Regions from separate parts of the Homo sapiens genome. Here regions 1 and 3 are each linked to region 2. Evidence: promoter capture Hi-C in 16 types of primary human blood cells and fetal thymus (Javierre and others, 2016). All regions are on one chromosome and are shown on one strand. The core of a region is centred on a gene start or on the middle of the fragment in contact, and the rest is flanking DNA. Distances in the headings are between cores, read along the strand shown.

Region 1 (3,157 bases), core at 14-2,513, 110 kb after region 2:
AACCTTTAAGAAACTACCACTTGCTAAGTTATCGTATAGTATCAAAAAATAATGTATCACCTGAAAGGCTATTAAAATGCTTCCTTTTCCAACCGTGGGGGTGTATCTAGGTGAAGCCAGGTTTTCCTCATATGCTTCAACCAAAGCAATGTATCCCAACAAACTGAAAGCAGAAGCATATATGAGGACCCAGCTGTTTTCTATTGAACCAGACATTAAAGACATTTGCCCGCCAGACACAGTGGCTTAGGCCTGTAATTCCAGCACTTTGGGAGGCTGAGGCAGACGGTTCACTTGAGGTCAAGAGTTTGAGACCAGCCTAGCCAACGTGGCGAAACCCTGTCTCTACAAAAAGTACAAAAAATAGCTGGGTGTGGTGGTGCACACCTGAAGTTCCAGCTTCTCAGGAAGCTGAAGCATGAGAATCGCTTGAACCCAAAGGCAGAGGTTGCAGTGAGCCAAGGTTGTGCCACTGCACTCCAACCTGGGGGACAGAGAGAGACCCCATCTCAAAATAAATAAATAAATACATACATACATACATACATACGTGCATGCATTTGCCAAAATGTTAAACCGTGCTATTCTTCCAATATTTTTTTGCTTGGGACAGTATAGTAATTTTGCATTAAAAAGTGTTAGATATGTTAATATGTAATGGGTATTTTTTTTAATGAACTTCATATATATCTTTTACATTTCTCAGTTTCAATTTCTACTATGGTAAATACTCATAGGTATAAACCCACATAAACTAAAGATCTGTAGTTCTTAATAATTTCTAAGAATAAAGGGATTCCAAAAAGTTTGAGAACCGACATTAAAAAGTGCTTTAAAGCTTAAAAAACATAAACCCTTCACTTACGTTCAATTCTATAAACATTCTTTGCAGCTAAATGCAAGATGGTATGGCATCCAGACTCTGCTCATAAGTATCTGCAGTGATCCATACCTTGATTGTACATCTACTCTGCATCCTGAGGACCTGAACATGCTAACTGGTGGCTGCAGATTTGTCTTCTAAGGAGCAAGTGTGGTCTGTGGACAGGCAGCTTCAGCCTCACCTGGGATTTTGTTTGCACTAGAAAGTGCCAAGCCCTACCCTAGACCTATTAAAGCAGAACTGGCGTTTAACAAGACACCCCAGGTAATTTGTGTGCACCTTAGAGTCTGAGATGCACTAGTGTAGTGATTCGCAGGGGGACAATTTTGACCTCCAGGGGACAATATCTGGAGACATTTTTGGGTGTCACAACGTGCTGGGGAGAGGGTGCTACTGGCATCTAATGGGCTGAGGCCAAGGGTGCTGCTAAACATCTGGCAATACCGGGCCAACCTCCCCCCTCCTCCTGCCCACAGTAAAGAATTACCCCGCCTGGATTGTCAGTAGTGCAGAGGTAGAGGAAACCCTACACCTGTGAAACTCATCTGACCTTTACTATGAATTCCTGGATCTCCTGGTGCATATCATTTCTGTTGCCCTGGCTGACATTTCCACCTTTTCTCTTTTCTAGATTTTATTACAAGAACTCAATCTGTTGGTCTCTAGGAATCACCTATTGCCTTGCTATGTTTTGTTGAACCTGTTTTTGAATCTGCTTTCTACATTGGGGAAATAGGTATACGTTTGTAAACCTTAAAAGCTCTGTATGCTATAAGGAAATCACCAGACACGTGGATAAGCTTTGCAGAGGTGAAGGGCTGTCTCCACCAGAGAGACCCAGAAGGAGTCAGGGTAAGCCTGACTCATCATGAGATCAGGTATCCCCAATCCACAGCGGACTTCCACAGTTCACCTTCCTAGGTAACCGCTCTGCCTTCCCAGGTAAAGTAGGAATAATATCAGAACTTACAGCATATTTTGAGGTCAAATTGTAGAATTTGGTGATTTCATTTTTATTATTACTCAACCTTTTATTTACAACCAAATTAATAAGGCTACTTACACATAACAATGTGTGGACATACACATTAAGAGAATCATTTGCTGCCTAGCACTCCTACCTAGGTACTTTAAGAACATCATTGAGTGGATACTCCCTCTGCTGGGTAAAATACTTTGCCACAATATCAGCTGAAATGATACCTCTTCCAGACTGTAATGGCAGAAGTAGTTATCCCCTCTTTCGTGCTGTCATCACACTTGATGCATGCCTACTTTATAATACTTATGCCATTGTCTCTGTTATTGGGTTTCTGTCTTCTACTGTGAAAGGGTGAGCCCATAAAAAACAGGGAATGTGTCTTTCAAAATGTTGTATCCTGCTCATTCTGATGTGAAGCCATTGTCCTCCTTCAATAAAATAAAACAGCATTTCTGAGGTCTTAGCATCAGGAAAATCTCCAGGTGGGTAAGGTTAAAGAAAAAATTATTCATGACACTTGTTCAGTGTGGTGCAATAGTCTCTTCTCACACTGCTATAAATACCCAAGACTGGGTAATTTTTTTATTGATTTATTTTTTAATTAATTTTTTTTTTTTTTTTGAGACGGAGTCTGGCTCTGTTGCCCAGGCTGGAGTGCAGTGGCGCAATCTCGGCTCACTGCAAGCTTCGCCTCCCAGGTTCACGCCATTCTCCTGCCTCAGCCTCCCAAGTAGCTGGGACTACAGGCGCCTGCCATCACGCTCGGCTAATTCTTTTTTGTATTTTTTAGTAGAGACGGGGTTTCACCATGTTAGCCAGGATGGTCTCGATCTCCTGACCTCGTGATCCACCCGCCTCAGCCTCCCAAAGTGCTGGGATTACAGGTGTGAGCCACCGCGCCCGGCCTATTTTTCATTTTTTTGAGATGGAGTCTCACTCTTGTTGCCCAGGCTGGAGTACACTGGCGCTATCTCGGCTCACTGCAACCTCCGCCTTCCGGGTTCAAGTGATTCTCCTGCCTCAGCCTCCCTAGTAACTGGGATTACAGGCGCCCGCCACCACATCTGGCTAATTTTGTATTTTTTGTAGAGACAGGGTTTCACTATTTTGACCAGGCTGGTCTCGAACTCCTGACCTCAGGTGATCCACCCGCCTCGGCCCCCCAAAGTGCTGGGATTACAGGTGTGAGCCACCACACCCGGCCAAGACTGAGTAATTTATAAAGGAAAGAGTTTTAATTGACTCACAGTTCCACATGGCTGCGGAGGCCTGAGGAAACTTACGACCATGGC
Region 2 (3,026 bases), core at 119-2,618:
TGACTTGCTTGATGCTCTTTCTTGTGTCTGACAATGTTCCTCCATACTCACAGCACTTTAGACGTTAGAAGAACCTAATGACATCTGTGGGAGGCAAAAGCTACTCGACTATTTTTACAGAATCCTGGAGCAGAAAGGCTTCTGAGATCACAGAGTTACAAATTCCTACCAAATGATTCAATTCTGTTTACATCATCCCTCAAAATCATCAAGTTTACTCAAGCATCTAAATAAGAAACAGCATATTCCATTTTTCAAAATAATCACAACTTTTGGGAATGACTCTCATCTTTTGATCCAAAAGCTATGTCCAGTAACTTCTTACTGACCCTCCCGCTAGTCTCTGGAGTTAGGAAGACTGACACAAGCAATGTAAACACTTTTCTATGAGAGTTTCCACAAGCATAAGGATAATGACCCTATGCCTACAAAGCATACACATCCCCAGCTTATTTAATCAGTTCTCCTAAGACCTGCTATCCAGGCCCCTCACTGCCACAGGTGTTATCTATGTCTTCGTAAAAAGCAGCACCCAGAAGTGGCTGGGAATGGCCAGATCAGTCCTGACTAAGTGTAAACATCACCTCTCCTGATCTGAGTGCTACATATCTGGTAATTTAGCCTACAAATAAACTGCATTCTGACAGACACGTTAGTTGGTTTAAACTGAGTCAACTACAACTATGAGGTGAATGGCATGAGTCTCTTTCACCCTGTGCTGAAGAGGCTGGATTTTATCTATAATGGGCCTCCCTTCAACTGTTTCCCTGTTATTCAAGTACTCACACAGCCTCTGACTCAGGCAGCCTCTCGACTGAAAACGGCGACTAATCCAGTCCACTCCACATCCTGGACTGTCACTCACCCCCACGCCACAGAAACCTGTTTCTTTCTCATAAGCTGTGGATAAGGTGGAATGTGTAAACTACTCCCTGATACCAAGTTTCCAGGTAAAAAGCACTGTCAAAGTTGACACTATTTTCCTTAAAACATTTAAAAACCCATACTTTTACATGCAAAATCAATATAAAATCATCAGTAACTTGGTCTTTTTTTTGGTTAAGGTTTATTGCTTCAGTCTCTTTCAAAGAATTTTTTGATACTTAAACCTTTACAGAAAAATTTATAAAGTTCCACAGATATCAACAATTCATAAATTCCAAGGGGCTTTTGGATAGTTTTTTTTAATCACTATAAAAAATTTCACTTCCCATTTAAAACAAAAAAAAACACAAAGTGCACACACGTACACGAGGCTAACTGCTCATTACATGCTCAGTCACAGGGTGACAGAGAAAAAAAAAGTCACCACCATAAAAGGAGGTCTGCACAGCCTCTCTTAAAACAACATGCCACAGTTAAAACTTACTTCAGTTTGGACAACTACTCACAGCTACTACACAGAGACCCGAACGAGTCACTGATATGTAAGTACAAGATCTTTTGCTTTTTCAACAAACTTTTTAAAGAAAAACTTTAAAAGCCTAAGTTTTAAGGTAAAAGGTAAAAAGGAAAACAATCTATTTAAGAACAAGCTACCATCACTTCTAACAAAAATTATATTAATAATGTAAGTTTACTCTCTCTGCTGACTGGTAGGTCTAGTTAGTTCTTATAAAGTTGACTGAAAGCGATGGGTCCACCAGAAATATCTTTGTCAAAAAATAGGGCTCACTTCATGTACTACTGTATAAACTCACAATGACAAAAGACAGTATCAAGCAAAACTATGCAAATAATGCCAATATTTCAGGATAACTTAGTATGAAGGAAAAGGAACAAAGTTATTTTAATATAGAATATTCCTATGCTATAGGAATTATTAGAAATATAAGATTATTTCTCAGGATAGAATCTCAGGGGTAGAATTCCTAGGGCAAAGGGTATATTTTCTAAAGCTTTAGATATAAAACGGTACTTTTTGGTCTACAAAAACATTTTACCAATTTACCCTCCCGCCAGCAAAGAGTACCAATCTTTGCTTTTTAAATGCTAAATACTACTAATTAGATAAGTGAAAAAAAAGTCTGTTGTGTGGTTTATACTTGTGTTTACTTAGACTAAACGTATCTTTTCTATGTGCCTGAGGGGAAAAAATCACAATGAATTCTATGCAGTGCTTTGGCAACATTTATGTCCAGGTTGGGAATGGTGGTAACAGAAACTTGGCAAAATAGAAGCTGTGAAGAGACTTCCTTTAAAGGGCAGTGAGGGTTTTATATATGTGTGTTTGTGTGTGTGTTGGGGGAGGGGGGCGTGGTATTTTGTTTTTTTGGTGTCACTCTGAGTACAATATAGTGTAATAAGAGCAAGGGCTCTGAAATCAGGATCAAATGAAATTTACAAGCTGTGTGGCCCCCCCACACACAAGTTACCTAATATCTGGCTTCAGCTGCTTTACCTGTAAAATGGGGAGTATTACTACTGCCAAGTCCTTACAACATTGCCTCTCATTATAAGTGCTAAAAAACTGTCTCCCATCATTCTTCTCCCATCTCTCTGGCCACTGACGTACCAGAGGGTGAATCCAACAGATATGTTATGGATATTTTACATAAAGACCCTGAATCAGGCTGGGTGTGGTGGCTCACTCCTGTAATCCCAGCACTTTGGGAGGCCGAGGCAGGCGGATCACCTGAGATCAGGAGTTCGAGACCAGCCTGGCCAACATGGTGAAACCCCATCTCTACTAAAAATATAAAAGTTAGCCAGGCACGGTGGCACTCACCTATAATCCCAGCTACTCAAGAGGGTGAGGCAGGAGAATCCCTTGAACCTGGGAGGCGGAGGTTGCAGTGAGCCGAGATTGCGCCACTGCACTCTAGCCTGGGCGACCATGCGAGACTCTGTCTCGATAGATAAATAAATAAATAAATAAATGGCCCTGAGTCTATGGATGATCACACATCTAACTGTGCTTACTGGTAGGACTGCACACTTCTTATATTTTAGCATGTTTTCTCTCTGCGGGTTCACTGCACTTTTTGGACATAAAACCACAAAGAATATGCTACTCCACAAAATGT
Region 3 (3,427 bases), core at 531-3,030, 93 kb after region 2:
AATAGGTGGTAACTATAAAAATAAACACACTGGGCCGGGCACGGTGGCTCACACCTGTAATCCCAGCACTTTGGGAGGCCAAGGTGAGCGGATCACCTGAGTTCAGGAGTTTGAGACCAGCCTGGCCAACATGGTGAAAACCTGTTTCTACTAAAAATACAAAAATTAGCCAGGTGTGGTGGCGGGCATCTATAATCCTAGCTACTACTTCGGAGGCTGAGGAATGAGAACCCCTTGAACCAGGGAGGCAGAGGTTGCAGTGAGCCGAGATTGCACCACTGCACTCCAGCTGAGGCGTCAGAGTGAGACTGTGTCTCAAAAATACACACACACACACACACACACACACACACAAATATAGGTTGGTACAAAAGTAATTGCCATTTTACCTTTAATGGCAAAAACCGCAATTACTTTTGCACCAACCTATAACAAAACAAAGTTATTAAAGACTAATATTACTTCCTGCTCTTTTTGTTACAATAGGAAAATAGCCTTTATTAGAGAGGTCTTTCAGACTAGCACCACATCAAGATTTTCTCTTTGATCCGATCAGGAATAGTAAGAACTGAAAAGGGCAGTTTGAATCACGGTGCGATGAAGGAGTAGATGGTGGGATCTCACCACGGGTCTGATTAGCCCTTTCTCTGCCTTGCTTGAGCTTCAGCAGAACTCGAAATGGCTGACGGTAAGGCTGGGAAGGACTCCGGAAAGGCCAAGACAAAGGCGGTTTCCCGCTCGCAGAGAGCCGGCTTGCAGTTCCCAGAGGGCTGTATTCATCAACACCTGAAATCTAGGACGACGGGTCACAGACATGTGGGTGCAACTGCCGCTGTGTACAGCGCAGCCATCCTGGAGTACCTCACCGCAGAGGGACTTGAACTGGCAGGAAATGCATCAAAAGACTTAAAGGTAAAGTGTATATTACCCCTCGTCACTTGCAACTTGCTATTCGTGCAGATGAAGAATTGGATTCTCATCAAGGCTACAATTGCTGGTGGTGGTGTCATTCCACACATCCACAAATCTCTGATTGGGAAGAAAGGACAACAGAAGACTGTCTAATGTATGCCTGGATTCCTTGTTATCTCAGGACTCTAAATAAAAGAACAGCTGTCCAGTGTTGGTGATGCCAGTGGACTATATTTCTGTGAAAAACACAATTTTGTCTTTTTGTAATTCTATTTGGGCAAGTTGGAAGTTTAATTAGCTTTCCAACCAAATTTCTGCATTTGAGTCTTAACCATATTTAAGTGATACTGTGGCTTCAAGGAAGCTATTGATTCTGAAGTACTGGGCTTTGATTGAGCTGACTGTTTTTAAAAAACTGTTTGGATTTTAATTGTAATGCAGAAGTTATAGTAACAAACATTTGGCTTTGTACAGACATTATTTCCACTGTGGTGGATAAGCTCAATAAAGGTCATATCCCCCAAGAAAAAAAAAAAACAAAAAGAAAAGAACTGAAAAGGGAGTCATGACCTGACTTCTATTTCAATGATGTTTACTGCTGGGCTGACACCCTGTCTAAAATCATCTCCAGTGGTGCAAATGCCACCGAACAAGCATGACAGCAGTGGGGCCTCAAACCCTTCCCCACCCACAGTCTACAAACAGCCTTTTCACCACCATCCCAGTTGGAAAGAAATTTATTTATTCCCCCAAAATAAAATCCTAGAAACTCTCCAAAAAGGGTGGGGTGGGGGACAATCTGCTTAAGGAGAACAATGAGGGGGTTGGAGGTCTGCAAAAAAGTAGAAGAGAGCTTGGGGTAACTTCAAACTTCCAAACCAGATCACAGCACAGGTGACGGGGAACGGACAAGGAGGGTAATAAGAAAGGCAGCTTCACTCAGGAGTAAAAGCCACAGAAAGCAATGAGCCACCCTTTGACGACTGCAGGGGGTTCTCACAGTCCTGCTTCCCCCACCACCACCTACTCCCCACCTCTGCAACCTATATGCAAACCAGCCTATTCATATTCCTTGCATACTAGAAGAGAACCTAGAGTCAGCCCTGCCATTTCAAGTTTGAGCCTCTTGCGGGAAAAGGCTGTACCCACAAACAAAGAGGAAACCCACACTAGGTACTTAGGAATCCAGTCATTCAGGACTGCACAAGAACGGCCAAGCAAGATCCAGAAGTTCACCACTCGTGTCCTTACACGAAAAAAATTTACTCCAGGAGGGATTCCAGGAAAAAAAAAAAAAAAAACAAACCAAAGATGCCAAGGCAAAAAATGATACAAGATTGAAGAAACAGCAGGACAGGTTTTCTGACCTAAGTTCTAACCCTGGCTCTACAATAAATACACAATCAGGCCAGGTGCGGTGGCTCACGCCTGTAATCCCAGCACTTTGGGAGGATGAGGCAGGCAGATCACTTGAGGTTGGGAGTTCGAGACCAGCCTGGCCAACATGGTGAAACCCCATCTCTATTAAAAATACAAAAATTAGCCAGGTGTGGTGGTGCACACCTGTAATCCCAGCTACTAGAAGGCTGAGACAGGAGAATCGCTTGAACCTGGGAGGCAGAGCTTGCAGTGAGCTGAGATCACGCCACTATACTCCAGCCTGAGCGACAAAGCAAGACTCTGTCTACAATAAAATAAAATAAAATATTCTTATCTTTTGATTCTATAATTCAACATTTATGATTATTTCTTTAAAATGGGGTTAAAGATGCAATCAATAACTTAGTTACAAAGATGTTCTAAGTGTTTCTAACGGGAAAATACTGCAAAAAAAACTTATTTTAGTACGATAAAATGTTATAATCGACCGGGTGCAGTGACTAATGCCTGTAATCCCAGCACTCTGGGAGGCTGAGTCGTGCGGATCACCTGAGGTCAGAAGTTCAAGACCAGCCTGGCCAACATGGTAAAACCCTGTCTCTACAAAAATACAAAAATTAGCTGGGCATGATGGCAGGTGCCTGTAATCCCAACTACTCGGGAGGCTGAGGCAGGAGAATCACTTGAACCCGGGAGGCAGCAGTTGCAGTAAGCCGAGATCACACCATTGCACTCCAGGCTGGACGACAGAGCAAGACCTTGTCTCAAAAAAAACAAAAAAAAAGTTATGGATAGGGCGTGGTGGCTCATGCCTATAATCCCAGCAACTTGGGAGGCCAAGAAAGGCAGATCACCTGAGGTTAGGAGTTCGAGACCAGCCTGGCCCAAATGGCGAAATCCCATCTTAAATAAAAAAAAAAAATTGAAAAAAAAAGTTATAATCATTCTAACTCACGTTTTTTAATATCTGAGATGTTGGAAGAACATCAAATGTGTATTTGAATGCCATTTCTGTATAAAATCAAATGTATAGGTATATGTATATGTATATACATGCGTCAGAAAAAAAAAGAATGCATAGATAAGCAGGTACACAGAAAAAGTCTAAAAGAATGACCACTAGACTACCAACAAT

Evidence for each region. Contacts are between HindIII fragments. The CHiCAGO score rates a contact against its expected background, and 5 or more counts as called.
Region 1: a contact is called between a fragment that was not itself captured here and the fragment with the promoter of GPR183 in region 2, in 5 of 17 cell types (monocytes, naive CD4 T cells, total CD4 T cells and 2 more). The highest score is 6.6, in monocytes.
Region 3: a contact is called between a fragment that was not itself captured here and the fragment with the promoter of GPR183 in region 2, in 1 of 17 cell types (non-activated CD4 T cells). The highest score is 5.8, in non-activated CD4 T cells.

Annotation. Positions count from the first base shown.
Region 1 is chr13:99,195,538-99,198,694 of GRCh38, reverse strand. UBAC2-AS1 (UBAC2 antisense RNA 1) reads left to right here. Exons shown (of 2, transcript NR_036531.1): 2 at 893-2,321. Among named protein-coding and RNA genes, the nearest start is that of UBAC2-AS1, 3.6 kb to the left of the region's middle. The HindIII fragment of the contact is 845 bases long and covers 841-1,685 here.
Region 2 is chr13:99,305,741-99,308,766 of GRCh38, reverse strand. GPR183 (G protein-coupled receptor 183) reads left to right here and starts at 1,368. Exons shown (of 2, transcript NM_004951.5): 1 at 1,368-1,427. All of the region lies in intron 4 of UBAC2 (UBA domain containing 2), which reads right to left. The HindIII fragment of the contact is 4,315 bases long and covers 1-1,900 here.
Region 3 is chr13:99,213,010-99,216,436 of GRCh38, reverse strand. All of the region lies in intron 1 of UBAC2 (UBA domain containing 2), which reads right to left. It also overlaps the pseudogene H2AZP3. Among named protein-coding and RNA genes, the nearest start is that of UBAC2, 14 kb to the right of the region's middle. The HindIII fragment of the contact is 9,244 bases long and covers 1-3,427 here.